3 separate regions of the Homo sapiens genome follow, and regions 2 and 3 are each linked to region 1. Evidence: promoter capture Hi-C in human tissues and cell types (Jung and others, 2019). All regions are on one chromosome and are shown on one strand. The core of a region is centred on a gene start or on the middle of the fragment in contact, and the rest is flanking DNA. Distances in the headings are between cores, read along the strand shown.

What was found. Contacts are between HindIII fragments. The study calls those that stand out against the background at their distance.
Region 2: a fragment that was not itself captured here is called in contact with the fragment with the promoter of CIAPIN1 in region 1 in 1 of the 25 tissues and cell types used here (liver).
Region 3: a contact is called between a fragment that was not itself captured here and the fragment with the promoter of CIAPIN1 in region 1, in 3 of the 25 tissues and cell types used here (adrenal gland, liver and lymphoblastoid cells).

The regions. Positions count from the first base shown.
Region 1 is chr16:57,445,503-57,449,728 of GRCh38, reverse strand. CIAPIN1 (cytokine induced apoptosis inhibitor 1) reads left to right here and starts at 2,344. Exons shown (of 9, transcript NM_020313.4): 1 at 2,344-2,387. COQ9 (coenzyme Q9) reads right to left here and starts at 2,250. Exons shown (of 9, transcript NM_020312.4): 1 at 2,151-2,250. The coding sequence starts at 2,223. RefSeq lists an enhancer at 2,138-2,432. The HindIII fragment of the contact is 8,205 bases long and covers 1-4,226 here.
Region 2 is chr16:57,201,176-57,205,401 of GRCh38, reverse strand. RSPRY1 (ring finger and SPRY domain containing 1) reads right to left here. Exons shown (of 15, transcript NM_133368.3): 2 at 394-898. The coding sequence starts at 743. Among named protein-coding and RNA genes, the nearest start is that of RSPRY1, 17 kb to the right of the region's middle. The HindIII fragment of the contact is 4,812 bases long and covers 1-4,226 here.
Region 3 is chr16:57,223,258-57,227,483 of GRCh38, reverse strand. It overlaps RSPRY1 (ring finger and SPRY domain containing 1), which reads right to left. Exons shown (of 15, transcript NM_133368.3): 11 at 31-142. Among named protein-coding and RNA genes, the nearest start is that of ARL2BP, 20 kb to the left of the region's middle. The HindIII fragment of the contact is 5,127 bases long and covers 1-4,226 here.

The DNA of each region.
Region 1 (4,226 bases), core at 1,095-3,594:
TTTGCCTGTCCTAAGATTTCATCTATATGTACATGTTTCAGTAAAGCTTCTTTCACTTAGGACTATATATGTGTGTGTATATATATATATTTATTTATTTTAAGTTTAAATAGAGACAGAGTCTTGCTATGTTGCCCAAGATGGTCTTGAACTCCTCGGCTCAAGCAACCCTCCCACCTCAGCTTCCCAAAGTGCTGGGATTACAGGTGTGAGCCACCACACCTGGACCACTTAGTATATTTTTGAGATTGATCCATATTTTTATGCCTATCAGTATATCTGGCAAAGATTCTCTCCTTGATCAGGCTCTAACCAGGCTCCTCTGAGCCCTCTTCTTATCTAGGCCTCAACCTTGGCCTATAAAGACTTGAACACACACTAACATAAGCATCACTCAGGGCCACATCCCTTAAGATAACCCTACCCCCCTTTAAAGTGCCTGCCTGAGAAAACTCAAGGCTGTCAAAAAAAATTTTACTGTTTGTTCAGGCTAACACTTAAGAAGGATAGGGCTTGTCTCCCTGTGGGAAAACAGAATCCTAACTTTGTTAACTGCCAGCTAGCAGACCAATCTTATTTATAATTATTCACTATCCTGACTCTACTGAGTCCCCACCTGCCTTCCTCCCTCCTCCCTCATTTTTTCTTTGAAACACCCAGTGACTTCTGCATGCTCTAAACTCAAGGTTGGGCTCCGTTCATGCTAGACTCTTTTCCCTATTGCAATAGTTATTACTGATTAAAAATGGTCCTTATCACTTTAGTGTCCAGCTTTCTCTTTGACTGATTTTTAGTTTTTATTGCAGAATAGTATTCCATAAAAAAAATACTATTCTGTTGCTAGACAACTGGACTGTTTCTGTGTTTGGCTACTATGAATAAAATTGCTATGAATATACTTGTACTAACTTTTTTGTAGACACATACCTTCATTTCTCTTGGTGGATTTGCGGGGTCATAGACATTACTTTTACTACACATCTTTAGTTTGGAATTTTGTATAAATACAACAAAAGGGGGCTAGGCGGTGGCTCATACCTGTAATCCCAACACTTTGGGAGGCTGAGGCAGGCAGATAACTTGAGGTCAGGAGTTTTGGACTAGCCTGGCCAACATGGTGAAACCCCGTCTACTAAAAATAAAAAATTAGCTGGGCATGGTGGCACAACCCCAGCTACTAGGAAGGCTGAGGCAGGAGAATCACTTGAACCCAGGAGGTAGAGGCTGCAGTGAGCCGAGATTGTACCACTGCACTCCAGCCTGGGTGACAGAGTGAGACTCTGTCTCAACAACAAAATTAAGCCAAGTAGGGTGGCACGCACTTGTAGTCCCAGCTCCTTGGGAGGCTGAGGAGCCAGACCCTGTCTCAGAAAAAAAAAAAAAAGAAAAAAAAGAAACAGAATAGTATGTGCCAAAATATCAATATTTTAATACATGTACTGAAAGATACGGCACAAATATCCGCAAAACTTTGAAAAGGAAGGAGCAGATGCAAAGTATGACTGTAGTACCACTGAGGGTCATGAGAAGATTTTAGGTGAAATACAGGTGAACGTTTCATCAGTTATGTATGTATGCTAAAGTGTTAATGCATACGTTCTAATTAAGGAAGGCGATATTAGTTTTCCATTTATGACAATGATATAAAGTTTCCTCTTTAAGAACTCCTATTTAAAAATAAAAATACTGAGTACATAGTGGCAAAGGTGGTAAGAGAGTATCACAGAATTCGTGAAGTGGTGAGGAAACGGCTGGCTTTCGGGAAACAATGGACTAGGCTCTCTGTGGCCGTGTCCACCTGTCCTTCCAGTGGACTTGGCAATGGACTTGAGAATGGGTCTGCGACTGCCAGTTCTGTAACCAACAGGCTCAGGCTGCGTGACTTTCGTACCCCGAGCCCTCTCTGAGGCTCTGCCAACTCCATGAAATGGGGGTGACAGGCCCTGCCCCGCTGCATCTGCCCCTCACAGACAGCGGAGCAGGGCCGAAGCTAGCCAGGCGGCTCGCCCGAGCCCGCGCCGATGCCCTTCACCTCACCTTGCTCGTGGGCCGCCCCAACGGCCTCTTCCCCCCACCGTCGAACCCAGCTGAAGCCGGCCTCGCGCCCCCTCCGCGCTCCCCGCCTCTCCCCGGCTTGGCAGCCCCCTCACCGGGCAGGCATCGCAGCTGCAGGAGCCTCCAGCCCGCCCGGCCAAGCGCACCAGATACCGCCGCCGCCGCCATTTTGGAAGCGGGCACGTCGCCCACGGCGACGCGACCGGTAGCTACGGGACCACGGCCCTAAGGAGGGCGGAAGTCGTCGCTCCGTGGAGCCTCCTCCTCTCGCGAGAGGCGCAAGGCGTGGAGTCGACGGCTGGAGAGAAGCCGGGAGCGAGCCCAGGCGGCAGGTGAGAGTGGTGGGGGCCAGCTGAGCGCCAGAGCTCCCTCAACTGTCCCCTCCCGGCCCACCCTCGTTCCCACATCCTCTCATTTTCTCTTCCCACCCCGTTCCTCGATGGGAACGCAGCCACGGCCGCCCCGCTGAAAGCCCCGGCTGGTTTATTCCTGAGAAGTCGGTGTGAGGGGCCAGGGCCGGCCCTAACCTCCCTGGGGTCCTGACTGGGAATTTCTGCCGTTCCCCGGCTGCCTCGTCCCTTGCGCAGCCGGCCCTACTCTGAGGCCCCGGGGACACCACGCTGAGGAGAAACGGCTCCGAGCTTGGGATCGGGGAGACCTGGTTCTGAGACCCGGTCCTACCAGTAGCCAATCGTTGTGACCTTGGGCCTCAGTCCCCGTGACGTTTTGGTCCCTGGGGGTTCCTGGCAGCAAAGCACGAAAGCCTTGGAGTCGGGGGGTACCTGAGCTCACGATTGTAATTTCGAACCTGCAACTTGTCCGAACCCCCAGCGTGTTGAGTTGATATAATTAAGTATCCAGATCGGAAGGATGCTTGTTACTAGAACAGACAGCTAGGCCTTTGTCCAGAAGGATTGATTGAGTGGGTCTGGGTGTGGTCCAGGAATCTCATTTTAACCACTCCCTCGGGTGATTTGTAGGATCTGCAAGTTCGGGAAAGGCTGGTGCCCTTCATTCTGACATTACTGAGTGCCAAGCTCTGGATGGCTCAAGGAGGTCACGGTCTAGCCACTAACAGAGCACTTCACGGGGGTGTCATCAGAGAAGGCTTAGTAGGAAGAAGTAAACGGTTTTTGGGCTAAGAGTAACTGACGACAAGAGCATGTGATTCTGTCGATTTTGTGTTTGCAGTCAGACCCCATCATTGTGTCTGTTAAAGTTGTGCTTTGCACACCCCTTGTCAAATCTAGTCTTTTCAGAATATCCGGCTCCCCCCTGCACGGGTGCGGGGAAGACCTCCTAAGCCAAAACTTACCCCAAAGGTTAAAATTTTAGATCCATATTTCTGGTTTTAGGTAAAACACTCCTCTCCATAAGGATTTGTTTCTGAGTTCTATCCATCCATCTTTGAATGAGCCTTTCCTGTGGAAACTAACATTTGGGTATCCTTTCTGAAACCCTAATTCCTGACACACGCCAAATGCCTGGAGACGTTCCTGTTTCATTGTTGATTCTCACTTTTTAAAAAAAATTCTGGGCCAGGCTCATGCCTGTAATCCCAGCACTTTGGGAGGCTGCGGCGTGTGGATCACTTGAGCTCAGGAGTTCGAGACCAGCCTGGGCAACATGGCGAAACCGCATCTCTACAAAGAATACAAAAATTAGCTGGGTGTGGTGGTGGGTGCCTGTAATCCCAGCTATTTGGGAGGCTGAGGCGGGAGAATCGCTTGAACCCCGGAGTCGGAGGTTGCAGTGAGCCAAGATTGTGCCATTGCACTCCAGCCTGGGCAACAGAGCAAGACTCTGCCAAAAAAAAAAAAAAAAAAAAAAAAAAAAAAACCTCTAAGGTCTTAGTCTAAGTGTCTAGACAGAGCGTTCTCTTGAGGGCAGGGAACAAGTGTCTTCTTGTCTGTCTCCCGTGTAGGGACAGGCACATAGTAGGTTTCTTAGGTCTCATTTGCAGGTTGTAATTGTGCCTTCCTACCATTCTGCTAAAGCTGGCAGGGAAACTGAGGCCCAGAGAGGGGCAATGGCTGACTTGGATTGCACAGCAGGCTGGTTAGGCCCACTTGGTACTGGTCACCCAGAGGCCAGGCAGTGACATGTATGTGCACAAGAGCTTCAGTTAGTTAATTTTATGTTTTTAATTTAATTTTTTTTTATTTTGAGAT
Region 2 (4,226 bases), core at 957-3,456, 240 kb after region 1:
TTCTTGGTAAAACAACTTACCTTGAATCTGAGGTCAGTGGAATAGACAGGCATGTACCATTAACAGTGAGCCTTCATGAAACCATTTCCTATTGTAGCTAGCAACATAAACTCACTCCATATTTACTCTATTCTCTAATAAAGATCATAGCTTTATCGTGTTTTCTGCTACAGAAACATTTAGACATTTCCAGACAAAGTAGATGACAGCAAGCAAAAACATCAAATCTTATCATTTACTCTGCCATCAGCGGAGCATTAAAATATTCTCCTTTGCCCTGTGAGCACAAGGCTTGGCGAGTATGTCCTAAAGGAACTGAAGGAGTCCTAAAGTCATGGTTCCGGGCAGAACACTTTTCATTCCACTGGAGGTGACCGTGAGTCAGATACTTACTTATCTACAAGAGTCCGTATTACTGCCAGTGTGTCCAACACTAGCCCATCCACATTTTGTTTCTTTCTCCTTGGCTCATGAGGTCCTCGGCCCCTCCTTGGTGGCCGAACAGGGTCCCGTGGTTGGCTCCTTGTGTCAGCAGTGGGTACTGCACTGTTCTCGGCCTGTTGCTGTTGGGTGTCAACACTGTCATCTGTTCCACTGTCATCTCGGCAGATACAGGAATTACCCATGGTAGTAGCGGCACCTCCAGTCCCTAGGAAGTGGGCTATGTGCTCTTCGAGAGTCAACAACAGACCCTGGCCAAGGCTTCTGCTCGCTAAGAACACGGCCCAACCAAAGACGATCATTTAGGTAGTTTTCAGTTTTCCAAGTACTGTTTTCATAACCTGGAGTTGAGGAATTTGCATCCTATTTGTTTTTAACAACTGAATGCCAAAGAAAGTTGCAGAGCTTATTCCCAACATTATCAACTACAGGGGATTCTGGACATCCAATGGCAGTTCTAAAAGAAAATGAGAAAAAGGAAAATGAATAAAAGATTCTTGACCACTTAATTACTCAAATTTTCCTAGTCTGATTTTATAGATATTAGGATTCTAATGAAGAATTATCTTTGGTTATTTTTATAGGTTTCCAATACAAAGAGATAGCTTTGGATAACAGAATTCGCAATCAATCAATAATTTCTTTTTATCATTCTGTTACAAAGTTGATTGCCAAACCATATTCTTATAGACCAGAGGAGTTATCATTGATTTTTTTAAAACCACATGTATAGTTTTTCCTGTCTATATAGAAATACATTAGAAGGATGTGTGCATTTTTTTTCAAGGGCTCCTTTTATCATAAAAAAAGAGTTGTCTTTCTGTGTAAGAGGTAGGTGTTAAAAAGAGAAAAATCTTTAAAAAAATGAATTAACTCCTTTCTTTAAACCCATAGGATAATTTAACAAGTTTTAAATAAAATAATTACAGACGTTTGTTGTTAAAAAAAAGTTATGATACAAATATGATAGCACCATTTGATATCAAGGAGAATAAAAGGATAGAGTTTCCCATTGGAAGCTCACTCAAGAACTGACAGAATTCATACAAGTTGTTGCAAAGTGTTTCTGTTATGTAAGCAAGGCTTTGTTTTGGGAAAGGAAAACTGATATCACAAAAGTTGTATTTTCACAATGATCAGTTTGTTGCACATGTCTATTACAAAGTTCAGAATAAGATGCACCAATTTATCTTTGCCTGAAAATACTGACTAAGGACCTTGTGCCAGGTACCACGCTGGACTAGGAGAATAAAGATGAGTAAGGAATAGTTCCTGCCCTCCAGGAATTCATGGATGGCCATTCTCATCCCACAAAGTATGTTTATCATTAAAAACCTAATGAAAGAACCAGCTCTTCAAGAAGCTGGTAAAATCTGGTTAGATTCTGGAAGGAAGTAAAGATTTAGAAATAGGAGACTTACATGGGCTGGTAGCAAAAAGTAAAAAAACAAACAAACAAACAAAACAGGCTGACAGCTGGAGAACAGGCCACATAAGGAATAGACTATGCTAGTGTGTAGTCTCTACACAACATCTGGCTAGTTACAATTAATTCCTCATACCTTGAGCACTGACCAGGAATAATATAAACAAAATTTATAATTCAGTGGAATTAGAAGAGAAATATTACTCCCATTATTTTATTTGTTTATTTATTTACTTATTTTTGAGGAGTCTCGCTCTATCACCCAGGCTGGAGTGCAGTGGTATGATCTTAGCTCACTGCAACCTCCACCTCCTGGGTTCAAGCAATTCTCCTACCTCAGCCTCTCGAGTAACTGGGACTACAGGTGCTGCCACCACACCCAGCCAGTTTTTATATTTTTAGTAGAGACGGGGTTTCACCATGTTGGCCACAAACTCCTGACCTCAGGCTATCTGCCCACCTCGGCCTCCCAAAGTGCTGGGATTACAGGTGTGAGCCACTGTGCCCAGCCTATTTCCATTATTTTAGACAGATTCATGGCAAAATTCTTTTTATTTTCCCAGTTTGATTACTGCTACAGGGAAAACATAGAAGAAAAAGAGAAAAATGGAGACAGAAAGTCTTCAGATATATATATATATATATATATATATATAATCATATGTAATAAAATATATATAAAGAGGGAGGAGGCAAAGGGAAGGGAGAGAAAAGAATGGAATGGGATGGAACAAGACAGGAGAAAGAAAAGGATAAAGGAAATGAGAGGCAACAGACGTTTTCACTATTAAGACAGCAATGGCTGGGCCAAGTGATACCACAGATGTTCTTGGTTCCCCCAAACCACTCGGGCTGTCTTCAAAATTTGGAGGTTGTACTGAAAAGGATGTGACTGAAGTATATAGGTAGGAGTATGATGCAAGGACCAGCTGGAAATAGCTTTTTAAAAGAACACATTCTAAACCAGCAGAGTCGAAGTAACAACATTGCCATTACTGTGGGGATCAGAGTATGATTCGCTTTAGAGGGTAGATAACTAAGAGATTTCAATGCTTAAGAGAATAGAGGAAACAGAAATCAGAAATAGGAATAATTCTTTAAAGGGTCCCTGAAATGAATTTCTACAGATCTTATAAATTATGCTGGTTTCTGAGAAAGATGAAAAAGCAACATTTAAGAAGCTATGCTCTGGGTCCTCTCACAGAAATTTCACTGATAGAGAACAAGAGGCTTGCCGCCATCTTGGAAGTGGCCTGCCACCATCTTGGGAGTTCTAAGAACAAGGACCCCCGCCACCCACCCCCCGTAACAATTGCACTTACTTTATTTGGTGTTCATAGTTTCCCTCTGAGACAAGATTTTTTATTTTTTATTTTTTTAGAGATGGGGTCTTGCTATGTTCCCCAGACTGGTTTTGAACTCCTAGCCTCAAATAATCCTCTCATCTTGGCCTCCCAAGTATTGGGATTACGGGTGTGAGCTATCCTGCTCGGCCCCTCTGAGATAAGCTTTAATATTCCTATTTCAAAATGAGTAAACTGCTCCTCTCCCTCTCCCTCCTCTCCCTCTCCCTCTCTCTCTCTTTCCACGGTCTCCCCCTGATGCCAAGCCAAAGCTGGACTGTACTGCTGCCATCTCGGCTCACTGCAAACTCCCTGCCTGATTCTCCTGCCTCAGCCTGCCGAGTGCCTGCGATTGCAGGCGCGCACCGCCACGCCTGACTGGTTTTCGTATTTTTTTGGTGGAGACGGGGTTTCGCTGTGTTGGCCGGGCTGGTCTCCAGCTCCTAACCGCGAGTGATCCGCCAGCCTTGGCCTCCCGAGGTGCCGGGATGGCAGACGGAGTCGCGTTCACTCAGTGCTCAATGGTGCCCAGGCTGGAGTGCAGTGGCGTGATCTCGGCTCGATACAACCTCCACCTCCCCAGCTGCCTGCCTTGGCCCCCCAAAGTGCCGAGATTGCAGCCTCTGCCCGGCCGCCACCCCGTCTGGGAAGTGAGGAGTGTCTCTGCCTGGCCGCCCATCGTCTGGGATGTGAGGAGCCTCTCTGCCTGGCTGCCCAGTCTGGAAAGTGAGGAGCGTCTCTGCCCGGCCGCCATCCCATCTAGGAAGTGAGGAGCGTCTCTGCCAGGCCGCCCATCGTCTGAGATGTGGGGAGTGCCTCTGCCCTGCCGCCCCGTCTGGGATGTGAGGAGCGTCTCTGCCCGGCCGCCCCGTCTGAGAAGTGAGGAGACCCTCTGCCTGGCAACCGCCCCGTCTGAGAAGTGAGGAGCCCCTCCACCTGGCAGCCACACCGTCTGAGAAGTGAGGAGCCCCTCCGCCCGGCAGCCACACCGTCTGAGAAGTGAGGAGCCCCTCCAC
Region 3 (4,226 bases), core at 586-3,085, 220 kb after region 1:
TGATAAATTTATAATGGAGGGAATGAATACCTTCTTTCCAGCATGGGTGTATGTGAGGCTTACTTCTGGCATTGTACCAAATCAGCTGCCGGCAGCCATCATACGCACAGGAGTATTCATCATCCCCAATGCCGTAGCCTTCCTGGAGAGAGACAAGGCCCAGAAGATTAGCAAGTCTGCCTGCTCTGACCTGGGAACAGAGAGTGTGTCTTTTACGACCACTGACCTAATGGCTGGGATTCTAAGCTTTCTGGATGATGAGAGAGCTCATGGTTTTTTGAAAATACTAAAATTATGACTTAGAGGGCTGGTTCCAAGTGAATAGATAATGACTTCACCAACAAATATTTTCCCAGTGCCTCCTTTGTTCAGGCACTTTCACATTTGTTAGTTCATTTAATTCTCACTAACATTATCATGAGGCTGGTGGCATCAGACTCCATTTTAAGAGGAAACAAAGGCTCAAAGAGGTCAACCAGCTTGCCCAAGCATATATTACTTGCCCAAGAAACAGAGCCAGGTTTGAACCTAAATTCTTCTGATTCCAAGATCAGTCAGTACACTTGTATATCAGCACAAGATTGTCAGAGGCATTCAAACCAGAGAGACTCCATCTTGAATAGGGGCAGGGTAAAATGAGGCTTAGACTTGCTGGGCTGCTCAGCTGCATTCCCAAGAGGTTAGGCATTCTTAGTCACAGGATGAGACAGGAGGTCAGCACAAGATACAGGTCACAAAGACCCTGCTGATAAAACAGGATGCAATAAAGAAGCCAGCCAGAAGCTGGCCAAAACCCACCAAAACCAAGATGGCAACAAAAGTGACCTCTGGTCATCTTCACTGTTCATTATATGCTAATTATAATGCATTAGCATGCTAAAAGACACTCTAACAGGTGCCATGACACTTTACAATGTCATGGCAGTTTGGAAGTTACCCTATATAGTCTAAAAAGGAGAGGAACCCTTGGTTCCAGGAATTGCCTGTCCCTTTCCCAGAAAACTCATGAATAATCCATCCCTGTTTAGCATATAATCGAGAAATAACTAAGTATACTCAGTTGAGCAGCCCACGCCACTGCTCTGCCTATAGAGTAGCCATTCTTCTGTTTCTTTAATAAACTTGTGAAAACACTTTATTCTATGGATTCGCCCCAAATTCTTTCTTGCGCGAGGTCCAAAAACCCTCTCTTGGGATCTGGATCCAGACCCTTTCCAGTAACAAGATCAGATCAGGCAAATACCTTTCTTGCATGTAGCAGACTTCAAAATACCCAAATATTCAGAGATTTCAAAACTGGAGATAAGAGAAAGGTTATAGTGGACACTCAGCTAAAAGCTATTCTGAAATCAGCTTGATTTGAGGATTGTACAGGTCCTTGGCAGTTTCTTCTTTTTTTTTCTTTGAGATGGAGTTTCACTCTTGTTGCCTAGGCTGGAGTGCAATGGCGCGATCTTGGCTCACCACAACCTCTGCCTCCCGGGTTTAAGCGATTCTCCTGCCTCAGCCTCCTGAGTAGCTGGGATTATAGGCATGCGCCACCAGGCCCAGCTAATTTTGTATTTTTAGTAGGGACGGGGTTTCTCCATGTTGGTCAGGCTGGTCTCGAACTCTAGACCTCAGGTGATCTGCCCGCCTCGGCCTCCCAAAGTGCTGGGATTACAGGCGTGAGCCACCGCGCCTGGCAGTTTCTTCTTTTTGTTACTTACTGCCTTTCAATTATTTCACAGAACTGTTAAAATAAAAGGGTGGCTGAGATCTTAAGAAATTATTTTGAGTGCTTATAAAAAATAGAAGCAGCATGCAAATCAGACAACTGCTATCTTTAAGGAACAATGGTGAAAAGTTTTACTAGAGAAAGAAATTGAAAATGGCCAAATCCAAGTAAGATCAGGTCCTGATGGCCTGCTTCTTCTATGGGGCAAACAATACAGTGAGGAGAGAGATTGGAAAAAAAGTTCTGATGAATGCAACAATGATTTTGTACTGGATTTTTGGATTACAACATACTGAATTTGGAGGAACGCTCTCCAAAGTGACTCTTCTGAAATAGCTATTGATATTCACTATTCAGACTACTCAAGAGTTAAATGAGCTTGCATCTAATTGCCTTAGAAATTCACCACCCAAGGCTGCCAAGAGCAGTGGCTCATGCCTGTAATTTCAGCACTTTGGGGGGCAGATCACTTGAGGCCAGGCATTTGAGACCAGCCTGGCCAACATGGCGAAACCCTGTCTCTACTAAAAATACAAAAATTATCCAGGTGTGGTGGCGCACACCTATAATCCCAGTTACTCTGGTGGCTGAGGCACAAGAATCGCCTGAACCTGGGAGGCAGAGGTTGCAGTGAGCAGAGATCACGTGCCACTGCACCCTGGCCTGGGTGACAGAGCGAGACTGTCTCAAAACAAAACAAAACAAAAGAAATTCACTACTTGCTAGAAAGAATGCCTTGCCACACCTTTCAAACGCTGAACAAGTCAGTAAGTAAAAAACTTAAAAACCACTAAAATGTAGGCATTGTGGCATAAGTAAAAGGCAAGCAATTCTTTTCTATCTTCACCTTCTAATGTCCTGAGAAGTCCTTGACAGAACACTTGAAAGAAATTCCTAGAAGCTAGCCACCATGAGTTGGTAAAGAGCAGACTCATTACACATTCTTTACCATGCAATGTCTTTGATGACTGGATAAGTTCCACAACAGAGTGGCACTGTAGCACAAAGAAGGAACTCTAATAACTTTAACTACAGAGCAGCATCTACAGATTTAAGGAGAAGATGCCTCTGCCTAGCAGAGATGCACTTTAAAAATCTCTTAAGCTTACATCTCAGAGAACAACCTAGATGTCCTACACCCTCTCTCAGCTCAAAATGTTCCCAGCAGGATTAATTTTGGTTTCCATTGGCTAGGACAGATAAATGAGAGAATAGAGTGGTTAGCTTGGTATTTATCTTGAACTACCTGTTTTTTGGTCATGCATATTTTAGCAATGGAAACATTACCAAATACAAACAAAAGAAAGTTTATCCACAGCTTGTCATTCAGGGAATAGTTTGAGTCTCTTTCCCACGTGGTGGACACTCTCCTTTTTCCTGCTGTAGGGCATCCCAACCGTTTCCTGTTAAGGGAAATGTATGAAGACAGTGTTCTGCCTCCTCCTTTGGAAGTGGAAAGGTAAGATATGACCTAGGCTTGGCCAGCTGGACCTTCCCATCAAACACTCAGTATGGTGCAAGTGACCCCAAACAGAGGGATAGTTAGGATGGATTTCCAGCAGCAATGGTGGCTGCATGCTGGCCAGATCGTTTCCCTAAAACACCGGCTATTGTACTTCCTGTTTCTTGGCCCTGACAGCCTTGGAGCCTGTCTAGTTCCAAAACTTCTCCATAATCTGGAGGCTCCGGAAAGGCTTCTAAATCATTCCTTTTCTGTCTGAGATAGCCAGAGTCATTTTCTCGAAGGCAGATGCTTCAACAGGGGAAGGAGCATGGGCTATCCTGGCCTGAAATCTCTAGCAGCTGGAGACTACATGGCTTTGGGGAAGTTTCTTAATTTCTCTCAACTTGATTTTCCTCATCTTTAAATGGCAGGATAATACCTTTCCAAACTCTCAAAAAGATTAAAGATAAATATGTGAAAGACCTCACAAAAGTGTCACATGACAGACACTCACAAAAAAGCAAAAGATATTTATTTATTTATTTATTTTTGAGACAGAGTCTCACTCTATCGCCCAGGCTAGAGTGCAGTGGCACTATCTGGGCTCAGTGCAACCTCTGCCTCCCATATTCCAGCAATTCTCCTGCCTCAGCCTCCCGAGTAGCTGGGATTACAGGCGCCCGCCACCACGCCCAGCTAATTTTTTATATTCAGTAGAGACGGGGTTTCACCATGTTGGCCAGTCAAACTCCTGACCTTAAGTGATCCACCCACCTCAGCCTCCCAAAGTGCTGGGATTACAGGTGTGAGCCACTGCGCCTGGCCAAAAGGCAAAAGATATTTTAGATAAATCAGAGTACACCCTTGGAGAGTTGCTCCTCCTAAGCCTCCATAAAAATATACAATACAACAAGACAAACTGTTCTGTAGGTTACCTGAACAGAACTATCCTTAAGCTTATTTTAATGACCTAACATTGAGCCCAGTGGCCAGCCTTTTAAAATGGAAACCTAAGCAGCAAGAATTCAAGTAAGAGGCACTATGCAGAGACTTAGAATCTTTTGA